Linked DNA regions of Homo sapiens: regions 2 and 3 are each linked to region 1. The links are contacts of gene promoters, found by promoter capture Hi-C in blood cells and fetal thymus (Javierre and others, 2016). All regions are on one chromosome and are shown on one strand. Each heading gives the region's core, a stretch centred on a gene start or on the middle of the fragment in contact. The rest is flanking DNA. Distances are from core to core; before and after follow the strand shown. Region 1 holds the start of TBC1D7 (TBC1 domain family member 7). Region 2 has its middle 3.0 kb from the start of DTNBP1. Region 3 holds the start of SMIM13 (small integral membrane protein 13).

Region 1 (3,945 bases), core at 368-2,867:
CAGAAAGACAGAAAGGGAGAGAAAGACGAAGGGGAAAAGTGAGTCTAGAAACAAAGAGTCAAGAATTAGAATAATTTTCAATGATGTTCTCCACCTTTTCAATATGATGTACCCTTGCATAGGACCCAATATTAAATTTTTCCTTTAACTCAGTTCTGCAACTATCTCACCTATGCATCTTGGCTAAAAACCAAGATATAAGTTAAAAGTTCTCTGAGCTGATAAAATAGATGGCACAAGGTTTATGCACTAGGTTTCCCACTATACCTATGAGTGCCTAGCACAATAGAACATTCTGTAGCTATTATAAATGCGCAAAGAAAAAAAATAAGTGAAATGGAAGCCAGGCAAGATACGTCAAGCAAATTATACTCAAACAGTATACACTATGATTTCATTTTTTGTTTTTTACAAATTTCATGTATTTTAAAACTTAACACTCTATTCCAAAATGTTAGCAATGGTTATCTTTAGATAGTAGGATTCTAGATGATTTTAATTTCCTTTCTTTTGCTTAGCTACTTTTTTTTAAATGGGCATTTTGTAAAATGAAAAATTAAGTTATATAAAAGTAAAAAGCCACGAGTTCCTCACTTATCTTTCTTTTAAACACAATTCTATTAAGTGTAGCTATCGAAATTCAAAACCCACAACAAATAAATCGCATTAAATTATAACTAGAAGAGGGTAAAGAATGTAGCCAATTGACAGTGATCCCAAAGTCAGAGTTGAAGACGGAAAAACGATTTAAAATCTACCGCAAGAACTCAAAAAGTTCAGTGGTCTCAAGTTCCTTCACAGTAACCTTCATAATACTGGCGGTAATTCATCCAAAAAAAGACCAAGTTAGATTTGGCGTTTCAAGAACAGAAAAGATCTGATGCATTTCCCAAAAAGCACTGCACTGCCTCACCCAAATGCTTCCAGCGTCTGTGCACAAAAGAGTAAATCTTTAGGTTTAAAAACCCTGCGACGTCCCCAGTGAGCAGGGGAGGGCTTCCTTCCTTATTGAAAAGATATCCTCTGAACCGATTCAGTCACAGGAAAGATTAGGATTCGTTTAGAAAATGAAATGCTAAAGGGCTCTGAGCTTTCGGGAGCAGATGTCTTAAAAATAAAAAAGTCAGCAGCATAAAACGCGTAATGAGTGTGGGGATTTATTTTTTTAAAGCATCCAAACAGCTGCATGACGATTTGGTCGGTCCCTGTTGTCTAAGGACACCCATTCTTAGATTGCACTACAATGACAAAGGCGTCCTCTAGGAGGAAATGCTGCAAATAATATCTCCTGCCCATGCGCGTCCACCTGATGGGAAAAGTAAAAACACCCTGGTCCAAGACCCCAGGTCCCATTCTCTCTATGATGGATGCTTCACCTCTAGTAGTGCAAACACACCCGGGTTGAGACTAAGTGGTCCGGGAGAAGCAGAGGAAGCCGTGCCCTGTGCGCTGACCGACCGCCGGGCAGGCGGGCACCGTTGGGGCCCAGGGCCAGGAGGGACGAGTCCTGCGGGAAGGAGGGAGGCGGCGGGGTACCTGGGACACCCGCGCGCGCCCAGACGGCCCGGGAGACAAAACTCAGCGCCGCTGCCGCTGCCGCTGCCGCCGCCGCCGGACGTGACATCAACTCCAGGTCGCCGGGCGGGCGCCGGGCGGGCGCATGCGCAGAGGGCGCGGGCAGGAAGCTCCACCCTCACTCCAGGAAGCTCTGGCTTCGTTTGTGAAACCCGACGGGATGAAGGGCTAGGCTCGCCTCCAGAGTAGTGTAGTTTCTCCCGCCGTGGGCACCCGGCCCCTTGCTACCCCGCAAAATCTCGCGACCATTTACTCTGGCCATCCGAAGGCGCGTGCCTGGGTTGCACTCCCGTGTCCGGCCCTCGAGGTTCTTGCCTAGGGAAGACCCGAGCCCTAGGGCCGTACTTAAGCTGCCTGCGTGCAGGACCCGGGTTTTGCTTTTGCTAATTTCCTCCCCACCCCAGGTATGTGGGAATAGATGAAGACCATCCGAATGAGAAGAAAAAAGGCAGGCAGAGGAGTGCAAGTCTGATTTAGAGCAGGCAGGCTCCCTGGGTTGGTTATTGTAGGTAACTGACTGGTTTTCTGGGCAGGTTGCTGCAGGTTGTGGATTGGAGGTCTATTTTTATATTAGATTTGGCCATTGTCTTAGTATATTCAGCCTCTCAGGTAAAACACTATAACATAGGAGAAAAATGAACGTGTTTTTTTTTTAAAAAAAGATGTGCTAAATGCAAGCTCCTAATTTGTTATTAGTAGGTCTAACAGAACAGAGTTACTCTTTAAAGTAGCTACTAACACTTACAAATGCTTTCTATTTCTGTGCTTGCCTCCCTGGTCCTCGGGCTGGCTGAGCAGCAGTGCCCAAGTAGGTTTTTAAACCGCCAGGGTTTGAGAGAAATCCCCAATGATGGGTATCGTCCCTTTGAAAGTTCAAATCTCTACCAAATAAGCCACACGGATGCCAAGCTTTGAAGGAAACTTAGGACTATCAACAGTGCAGAAGTCCAGTTATAGTGCAGACAAATGTGTGTATAATGGCTAGACAGAACTTAAAAATGAAGAAACGTGTGGTGGTTGAACTCAAACACTGATGCCCCTCCCCACTCCCTTACCACCACCATCTTTAGTTCCTCAGTACTGGGGTACTAAACCTTCCTTGGGTAGTGTTCACATGAGTAAGCAGAGTTCTTCAAGTTACCTTACACAAGTTCCATTTACTTCATCTAAACCTTGGGCCGGTCACTAACTTTTATAATTGCCTTTTCTTGTCTTTAAAATCATCACCAGGGCTGGGCACTTACTGTGTGCAGGCGCTGTTCTATGGACTCAGGATACATCAGCTACCGAAGCAAAGATCCCTAACCTTGTGAAACTGACATTCTGGTGGGAGGACAGATCCAATAAAAACTAAAATAAATAAGTCAATGATGTAGTGTGTTAAAAAGTGATCGGTGCTGGCTGGGCGCCGTGGCTCATGCCTATGATCCCAACACTTTGGGAAGCCGAGGCAGGCGGATCACCTGAGGTCAGGAGTTCGAGACCAGCCTGGCCAACATGGTGAAACCCTGTCTCTAGTAAAAATACAAAATTAGCTGGGTGTGATGGCACACACCTGTAATCCCAGCTACTCTGGAGGCTGAGGCAGGAGAATCGCTTGAACCCGGAAGGCAGAGGTTGCAGTGAGCTGAGATGGTGCCGCCGCACTCCAGCCTGGGCAACGAGAGAAATTCCATTTCAAAAAATATTAATAATAAAATAAAATCATCACCAATGGTGATTATATAGAAGGTGGGAAGGGTTAAATGAGAAAGTATGTAAAGTGCTTGGCATGGTGCCTGGCATGTGGCACAGTAGGGATATATGTGAATTGGCTGTGTCAAGATCAATTAAAAATGCAAAGATGAGTCTCTAAATCATTTTATTTGGGAAAACAGAATTGCAGTTCAGGGCATACACACAGACTGGGGTGGTCTTCAGAACAACAAAGAGATGGTTGGAGGTTTCATTAGAGAAATGTTATGTATTACCTTGAAAGATAGCTCATTGACCCTAAGCAAAGTTTTTAGGAACAGGCAAGCTCTAATTTGTGAGAGAAGGTGGTAAGTAAAACTAGTCTTAGAGTTACAGCAATTCGTTTCAGCAGCTACTGGGTGAAACTGGTCTTCAGGTTATAGCAGGTCACCTTGGCAGCTGGCTTTCAATATAATTCCTGGGCAGGCACTTTGTGCCCCAACTGCTTTCTCTTCTCCCTCATCTCTGGACTCTAATTTAGCTGGGTATGAAGATTACTCCAATTCATACAATCAATTTTCAAGACTGCTGTTCACTGAATGGTGACAGCAATATGGGTGCCTTCAACTGCCCTCCATTCTGTTTTTTGATGAGCTGATAACAGAATATGTGGAAGCTTCCCTAAGAGATAACACT
Region 2 (3,945 bases), core at 1-2,500, 2.3 Mb after region 1:
CATTCCCCATATTAACCCATCAAATCCAATCAACTCTACTCCTGAAGTATTTCTGGAACCTCCTTCTCTTTCTATATCTTCACTATATTTATCCTGGTCGAAGGCACCATCCTCTTTCAATGGGAACACAGACAGTTCTTCCAGATTCTACTCTTTTGCCATACACACCCCTATAATCCATCCTTGACACAGCAGCCAGAAAGAGTTATTTAAAAGATCAATCGGATCACGTTGCTCCCCTGCTTAAAATCTTCCAATTGCCTCCTGGGCACTTGGAATAAAATTCAAACTACTTACCCCCTTAAAAAGCCCTAAAATTTGAATGTTTTCTAGCACTGTATCCAAATTGATTACTAGTCACCTATCATGTCCTTGACAATTAAGACATAATAGCCTTTTTTTTTTTTTTTTTTTTGGTGTGTTCTTAGAAAATTCCAGGTTTATTTCCACCTGTGGTGTTTTCACAAACTTTTCTCCAAACTGTCCCTTGTCTGGCTCCTTATAACATAAGGGTCACATCCTAAATAGCATCACATTAGATAGGTTTTACTTACCATTCAAGTTACACACCCAATCACTTCCTATCACGTAGCCTGTTTCTCAACTTAGTACACATTAGAAAATTTATTCAATAATTATTTGCTATTTATTAATTTAGTTGTTTACAAACATATTTTAAAACCACGACAAATAAGGCATTCACCTCAGGTACAAAATTTACGGGAGCCAAAAAGCTCAGTAATCAAGATAAGTAATATTTTAATACAATATTTAAAAAATTCAAAATTAATGAAAAAAAATCTGTGATGAACAAAATATCAAAATTTTAAATACACAGGATCTGTTAGGGCTGGGATTGGATGAGGCCAGTGAGGTAAGTAGCACAAGTACAGGCCCAGATGTAAACTGCTCTGTCTTATTAAGCTTTGCATCCCCAGCAATGAAAACAGTGAATGGCACATAACAGACACCCAGTAAATGTCTTGTTGCAGGAGTTAAATAAGATAAAGGACTTAGCTTGTAGCTGGGGGACCACCTCTTCCCCACTCTTGATGTTTTCTTCCATGGGAAGGGAGCTCTTCTGCTAACATAAAGAAGTACCCAGCCTCTCCTGGTGGGGAAGAGGTGACTACGATGATTAGTGAGCTAGAAGTAAGGAGCTTGGTCTCATCTTCTTTTCTTTTTGTTGAGTGAACACTTCCAACAAAGAGCATTCATTCTGCTGCCTAAAGACAGGCTTGAAGGGCAACCCAGTGCTTTTTGTGACTGGGTACTAGAAGTTCTGCTTGCCCATGAATATAAGCCATGTGTTCCATCAGTCTTCCTAGATATAAAAGTGATATTTTGGCCTCTTTATGCTGACACTATTGTTTTATTTCTCAGTTTGCTCAGACAAGTAAGAAAGAGGAGTGCTGTTTATTGAGCCTTCTTCTACCTCTCAGAAACAGTGCCTGGAACAAAGCAAGTGATCAAATGATCAAATCTACAGACAGGTCCCTTAGTATCTAGTAGATTTGAAAACCACAAGTACTGGGAAATATTAAATTTTTTTCTTTTATTCAATTAAACTCTACACATAAGCTTTCAATTTACTAAGTTTCATACATTCCAACAAAGCACCAAATCCACTCAAAAAAGACTCTTGCCTGTCACTAAAAAATAGCTTTACTGGTTGTGCCTGATCATTTCTGTCTTGACCAATGCACTGTTTATTAGTCTATGGCATGTTTGTATTTGAGGTGCTTTCTGAACATTCTTAATTCCATCATATCTATTAAATTAAAAAACAGTGAAAGTTTTAAAAGTGCTAATAAAAAGATAATTTATGATTTAAAGAAGTAAATATTAAAAAAATTAGAAAATAACTACTGTTGTACATGAGTTGCTCAGGAGGAATGATTAAGGACCAAGAGTTGAAGCATGTGACATGTCGTGTTTACATAAGTAACAGTAATCAGCCAGAAACTAGGAAGATGGATTGGCAAAATGAAAAAAAAAACAAAGCTTTTAAGTACAGTTTGAGAACCAACATCAGTATGGAAGCTATTGACCTAATCTTAATTCAGGAATTGGTTGAGAGTTGATTGTTGTTTGTTTGGGGTTTTTTTGTTTGTTTTGTTTTAAGACGGAGTCTCCCTCTGTCACCTAGGCTGGAGTGCAGTGGTGCAATCTTGGCTCACTGTAGCCTCCACCTCCTGGGTTCAAGTGATTCTCCTGCCTCAGCCTCCTGGGTAGCTGGGATTACAGGCTTCCGCCACCACGCCCAGCTAATTTTTGTATTTTTAGTAGAGACAAGGTTTCACTATGTTGGACAGGCTGGTCTCAAACTCCTGACCTCAAGTGATCCGCCTGCCTTGGCCTCCCAAAATGCTGGGATTACAGGCATGAGCCACCGCGCCCAGCAGAGAGTTGATTTTTTGAGAGCATATTAGTTGCGCCCAGGAAAAGCTTTGGTGATACAACGTTTGGGGTGAGCACCAAAGCTGCTAAGAAGTTTCCTGAAATAGTGCTTCCCTGACCAGCAGCAGCCGCATCATCTGGGAGCTTCCTGCAAAGGTAGAATCGTAGGCCCCAGCCAGCCCTACTGAATCAGAATCTGAGTTTTATTAAGACCCCCCGGGTGATTTTTATTCATGTTAACATTTGAGAAGCCCTACTCGTTGATGAAAGGGGGTTTCCTGTCTCAGCAGATTCTTATTGGAGACAAAGTGATAAATGAGGATTTGGCGGAGTTAGAACCAAAGAGAAAGATGCTATTAAAGAAGGGGTGGTACGAAAGAAACCACCATCAGAGCGAACAGGCAACCTACAGAATGGGAGAAAATTTTTGCAATCTACTCATCGGACAAAGGGCTAATATCCAGAATCTACAATGAACTCAAACAAATTTACAAGAAAAAAACAACCCCATCAACAAGTGGGCAAAGGATGTGAACAGACACTTCTCAAAAGAAGACATTTATGCAGCCAAAAGACACATGAAAAAATGCTCATCATCGCTGACCATCAGAGAAATGCAAATCAAAACCACAATGAGATACCATCTCACACCAGTTAGAATGGCGATCACTAAAAAGTCAGGAAACAACAGGTGCTGGAGAGAATGTGGAGAAATAGGAACACTTTTACACTGTTGGTGGGACTGTAAACTAGTTCAACCATTGTGGAAGTCAGTGTGGCGATTCCTCAGGGATCTAGAACTAGAAATACCATTTGACCCAGCCATCCCATTACTGGGTATATACCCAAAGGACTGTAAATCATGCTGCTATAAAGACACATGAACACATATGTTTATTGTGGCACTATTCGCAATAGCAAAGACTTGGAACCAACCCAAATGTCCAACAATGATAGACTGGATTAAGAAAACGTGGCACATATACACCATGGAATACTATGCAGTGAAAAAAATGATGAGTTCATGTCCTTTGTAGGGACATGGATGAAGCTGGAAACCATTATTCTCGGCAAACTATCGCAAGGACAAAAAACCAAACACCGCATGTTCTCACTCATTGGTGGGAATTGAACAGTGAGAACACATGGACACAGGAAGGGGAACATCATACACTGGGGCCTGTTGTGGGGTGGAGGGAGGCGGGAGGGATAGCATTAGGAGATATACCTAATGTTAAATGACGAGTTAATGGGTGCAGCACACCAACTTGGCACATGTACCCTAAAACTTAAAGTATAATAATAATAAAAAAAAAGCAGGAAAAAAAAGAAGGGGCTGTAGAACCCAGAAAAGTTCATACCATTTCATTGGCAGAGCTCTTTTAGAGTAATTGGAAAGGGACTATGGTTAATTGCTTTGCAGGAACCTGACTTAGATTTGTAAAGATATTTACAGTGTGTTGTTATTATTTGTGATGTTTTTAAAAAGCCAACATGTAAATATTTTTGATATCTTTAATTTTTAAGAGTTTAATGGTTACAGAA
Region 3 (3,945 bases), core at 631-3,130, 2.2 Mb before region 1:
CCTGGTATGTTCTTCTCTAGGTCTTTCCATGAATCCTTGTTGTCATTCAGGACTCAGATTAAATGTTACTTCCTCAGGAAGACCTTCCCTGATCCCCCAACAAGCTAAAATAACACACCTACATTTATCACACTGTCTTGCTATTAATAGCAGTTCCTGAGATTTCTCTATTTATGCTTATTGTCTGTTTTTTTCCAACTGTCATATAAGCATCTTGAGTAAAGGCACTTTGTCTTATTCACTGCTGTATCCCCAGCACTTAGAACAGTGCCTGGCCCCTATAGGTATTCCAATATATGTGAATCAAAGAGAAAAAGGTCCTTTAAAATAAATTATTTTAGTTCTTCCGATGGCTGTTTTCTTTTCTTTTCTTTTTTTTTTTTTTTTTGATAAGAGTCTCTCTGTTGCCCAAGCTGGAGTGCAGTGGTGTGATCTCGGCACACTGCAACCTTGGCCTCCTGGGTTCAAGCGATTCTCCTGCCTCAGCCTCCTGAGTAGCTGGAATTACAGGCGCCCACCACTACCCCCGGCTAATTTTTGTATTTTTAGTAGAGACAGGGTTTCACCATGTTGGCCAGGCTGGTCTCGAACTCCTGACTTCAGGTGATCTGCTCGCCTTAGCCTCCCAAAGTGCTGGGATTACAGGCGTGAGCCACCTCGCCTAGCCCTGACGCGTATTTTCAACTGGCTTTTAATAAAATGTGTTTTAATTATGCAACATAATTGAACCACCCATGAAAAAAGCACACACTGATTTTTTGTAAATATATCTTAATTGCACTGGGTTCATTCTCTTCACAGGAATCTATATTAAATCTGTTGCAAAGCAAGTAATTATCCTTTAATGTATTTTTATACATGGTATTTGTTCCTAATGTTGCTTCTTAGGGAATACAGTTCACATAGTAGGGCAGCTGGGTATGGCAGGATACATTTATTAAATCAAGGGATTGCTGCTTAGAACTTTTGTGTTTGTTTTTGGAGACAGAAGACAGGAAACTGTAATTTTTAGAAGAGTAAAAAGGTATCTCAGGGAGCAAAAGAATCACAGGAAAACTCGAAGGCTCTGATTCCTTCTAAAAGAGGGACACATTTACCCTCTATTCTTCTGGGGGCACCTCTTTAACAAATGAATGTAATCTGGCGGAAGTGGGGAGTTTCAATTTTGGGTGGAGATACAGTAGTTGAGATTACTACAGTGTCTTGTTTCGTAGAGGTGTAAGCCAGTGCGGCAAAATCTCCAAGCTTGGTCTCAAGGAGGCAGCTGGGTCTAACTTACAACTCAGGCAGGTGATTTGAGGGCAGTGCAGCTGTCCTTAAGTCACCCGCGGGCCATTTCTGAAATGCTTTACTTACGAAAAGATAGAACATAACATCTGTTGCAGGGGGAAAATGAGATTTCGTGTCCTGACCCGCGTCTGCGGCAGGGACCTGAGTTCTTCCTCCAAGTCCCAAATAGCCAACCTTCGCCCCCGGCAACAGGGCTAGGTGCACGAGCAACCAGTTTTTCAGGCAGCCGCCTCCTCTTTCCTCTCTCGCCGTACTTCATCGATTACGGCTAGAAACAAAACGACTTTGTATACGGAGTAATGGTTGAAATCTCACTGGCGCCTCAGCAGGACGGGCAGCCAGATCCGCGGCTTTGGAGAAGGCCAGCCCACGGTCGTCCGACTGAGGCGACTTGAGCAAGACCAAAGGCAGAGCCGCCCGAGAATGAAAGCAGCGAAGCCCGAGTGGCGGTGCATTCTGGGAGTTGTAGTCCCTGCGAGACAACGCCGTCCCGACTCCACCAGGCTCTGCACTCCATCTCCCAGCCGACCCCGCGCCGCGGAGGAGGCGAGCTTGGTGATGAGCTGCCCCAGCGGTAGGGGGCCTGGGGCGGAGAAGCCGCTACAGCCGCGGCCGGGCGACGCTGACATCTGGCATCCCTGGGGTCTCAGAGACACGGGTGGACAGCGACGAGGGCCTTGTGGCCGCCGTGTGTACCCGTGCTTACCCTCTGTCCTCCCTACAGGCGCGCGGCGTCCGCCATGGAAGCGCATCCGACCGCTGGGGTCTCTGGGTGCCGCGGCCTCGGCTCTCCGGGGCGATGAGGGACTAGAGGCGCCCTGAGGCCCGCCTGCCTCCCGCGCTCTGGCCACCCCGGCGGGAAAAGGATCGGGCGGGCGGGCGGTCCCACAGTGCCCGCCTTTGCGCCGCCCCACCCCCTGGGGGCGCTGCCGAGGGGGCGCCAGCCGCCCATGCCGCCCCGGCGCCCAGCCGCGCCTGGCGCCCGCCGCTGAAGCGCAGGACGCGCCGCCGCCCGCGCTCACCGCCGTCCGCGCCAGCCGCCCCGAGCCGACTGCCCTTCTGCCCCCAAGATGTGGCACAGCGTCGGGCTGACTCTGCTTGTGTTCGTGGCCACGCTGCTGATCGTCCTGCTGCTGATGGTGTGCGGTGAGTGGGGGCGGTAGCCGCGAGGCAGTTCCACACGCCGGGTCGCTGATCTGCTGGGGTTTTTTTTGTTGTTTGTTTTTTTGAAAAAAACAAAAGGGCGTGGACGGACAATTGTCTTAAAATCAACTGTTGTCCCTTAGCCTCTAGGGCTGAGCGCAGAGGTGGGCCCTTTACTCATGGCCGGCCCTCGGGCATCCTGGGGAGGGAAAGGACAGGCTCCAGGGCTTCCTGCCTCTGAGTGAAACTCAGCCTTGCTTCACCGGCAGCGTCTGCTCTTTCATTCTCACCACAGGCTGCCCAGATTGTAACCTTGGCCTGCATTCGAAGGTGAAGTGATTGATTGGTCCTTTTTCATTTGCACAGATTCTGACCTTAATAATGAGAGGTGTCACCTTCGTTTCATCAGCGAGTGGGGTAGAGTTGGGTTTTCAGCACGCGTGAAATTGTTTACTTAGAGTTCAGCCTTAAACTCAATTCCAAGCAGAGATGTGGAGACCAGGCAGAGCTTAGAAACACCGGCTATATTAAACTTGCAGGGTCGGGTAACCTAACTCTCAGTTCTATAATAATGGTGCTATTTCGAATGCTGTGCGTATTTTCCTTCTTGGAATGAGAGGACGTTCAACTTTTTTCTTCAAATAATGGTAGCCCAATTTTAGATCTTTTTGATTTCTTTGTACATGTATAGTAGCTGATAACCACAGGTCTCTTAGCAAAGTGGCTAAGCAATTGTGAAAATCTAAAAAGTACGTAGAACACGTGTCAGTGAGTTTACACATATTTATAAGACTGAAGTATGGGTTCAGGTTGATGTAATAATGGGTCAGAATTCATACAGATACTATAGGGCTTGTTCATTACACGATAAATGTACAAATTAATACTTAGTGACGCTGTGGAATATATGTGTGCACTTGTGCATATGCATGTGTATGTATTTATAAACTTATATGTTTATTTTATTTTTTGAGATGGAGTCTCGCTCTTGTTGCCCAGGCAGGAGTGCAATGCAGTGGCCTGATCTTGGCCCACTGCAACCTCTGCCTCCTGGGTTTAAGTGATTCTCCTGCCTCAGACTCTCGAGTAGCTGTAGCCGGGATTACAGGTGCCCGCCACCATGCCCAGCTAATTTTTGTATTTTTAGTAGAGATGGGGTTTAACCGTGTTGGTCAGGCTGGTCTTGAACTCCTGACCTCATGTGATCTACCCGCCTTGGCCTCCCAAAGTGCTGGGATTACAGGCATGAGTCACTGCATCCGGCCTTGTATGTATGTTTAAAATTTGTTGTGCTTTTCTGTAACACCAGGTTAAAGCTTCTAATTTACAGCCTTTCTTTTCTGATGAGATAAAGCAATTGAATAACCTTTCTCAATTTTCTGCTTGTGATATCAACAAGCAGAAGAATATTAGAATATTGAACTAATTGTAGATGTTTAAGGTTCTTGAAGTAAGGAAAACAAAATCCTTGTGATATGTTTGGATGTGGGGAAGGAGGGAAAGCATTTATTA

The links. Contacts are between HindIII fragments. The CHiCAGO score rates a contact against its expected background, and 5 or more counts as called.
Region 2: a contact is called between a fragment that was not itself captured here and the fragment with the promoter of TBC1D7 in region 1, in 2 of 17 cell types (total B cells and naive CD8 T cells). The highest score is 5.3, in total B cells.
Region 3: the fragment with the promoter of SMIM13 here is called in contact with the fragment with the promoter of TBC1D7 in region 1 in 1 of 17 cell types (fetal thymus); the score reaches 6.4 in fetal thymus.

The regions. Positions count from the first base shown.
Region 1 is chr6:13,326,920-13,330,864 of GRCh38, forward strand. It overlaps TBC1D7 (TBC1 domain family member 7), which reads right to left and starts at 1,618. Exons shown (of 8, transcript NM_016495.6): 1 at 1,377-1,618. It overlaps TBC1D7-LOC100130357 (TBC1D7-LOC100130357 readthrough), which reads right to left and starts at 1,618. Exons shown (of 9, transcript NM_001318809.2): 1 at 1,537-1,618. LOC124901261 (a long non-coding RNA gene) reads left to right here and starts at 1,696. Exons shown (of 2, transcript XR_007059457.1): 1 at 1,696-1,979; 2 at 2,806-2,938. RefSeq lists a silencer at 1,434-1,823 and an enhancer at 1,457-1,963. The HindIII fragment of the contact is 4,199 bases long and covers 1-2,482 here.
Region 2 is chr6:15,664,081-15,668,025 of GRCh38, forward strand. No RefSeq gene overlaps it. Among named protein-coding and RNA genes, the nearest start is that of DTNBP1, 3.0 kb to the left of the region's middle. The HindIII fragment of the contact is 657 bases long and covers 923-1,579 here.
Region 3 is chr6:11,091,954-11,095,898 of GRCh38, forward strand. SMIM13 (small integral membrane protein 13) reads left to right here and starts at 1,881. Exons shown (of 2, transcript NM_001135575.2): 1 at 1,881-2,436. The coding sequence starts at 2,361. RefSeq lists enhancers at 1,488-2,028, 1,571-1,780, 2,029-2,570, 2,451-2,570 and a silencer at 2,041-2,350. The HindIII fragment of the contact is 2,504 bases long and covers 1,244-3,747 here.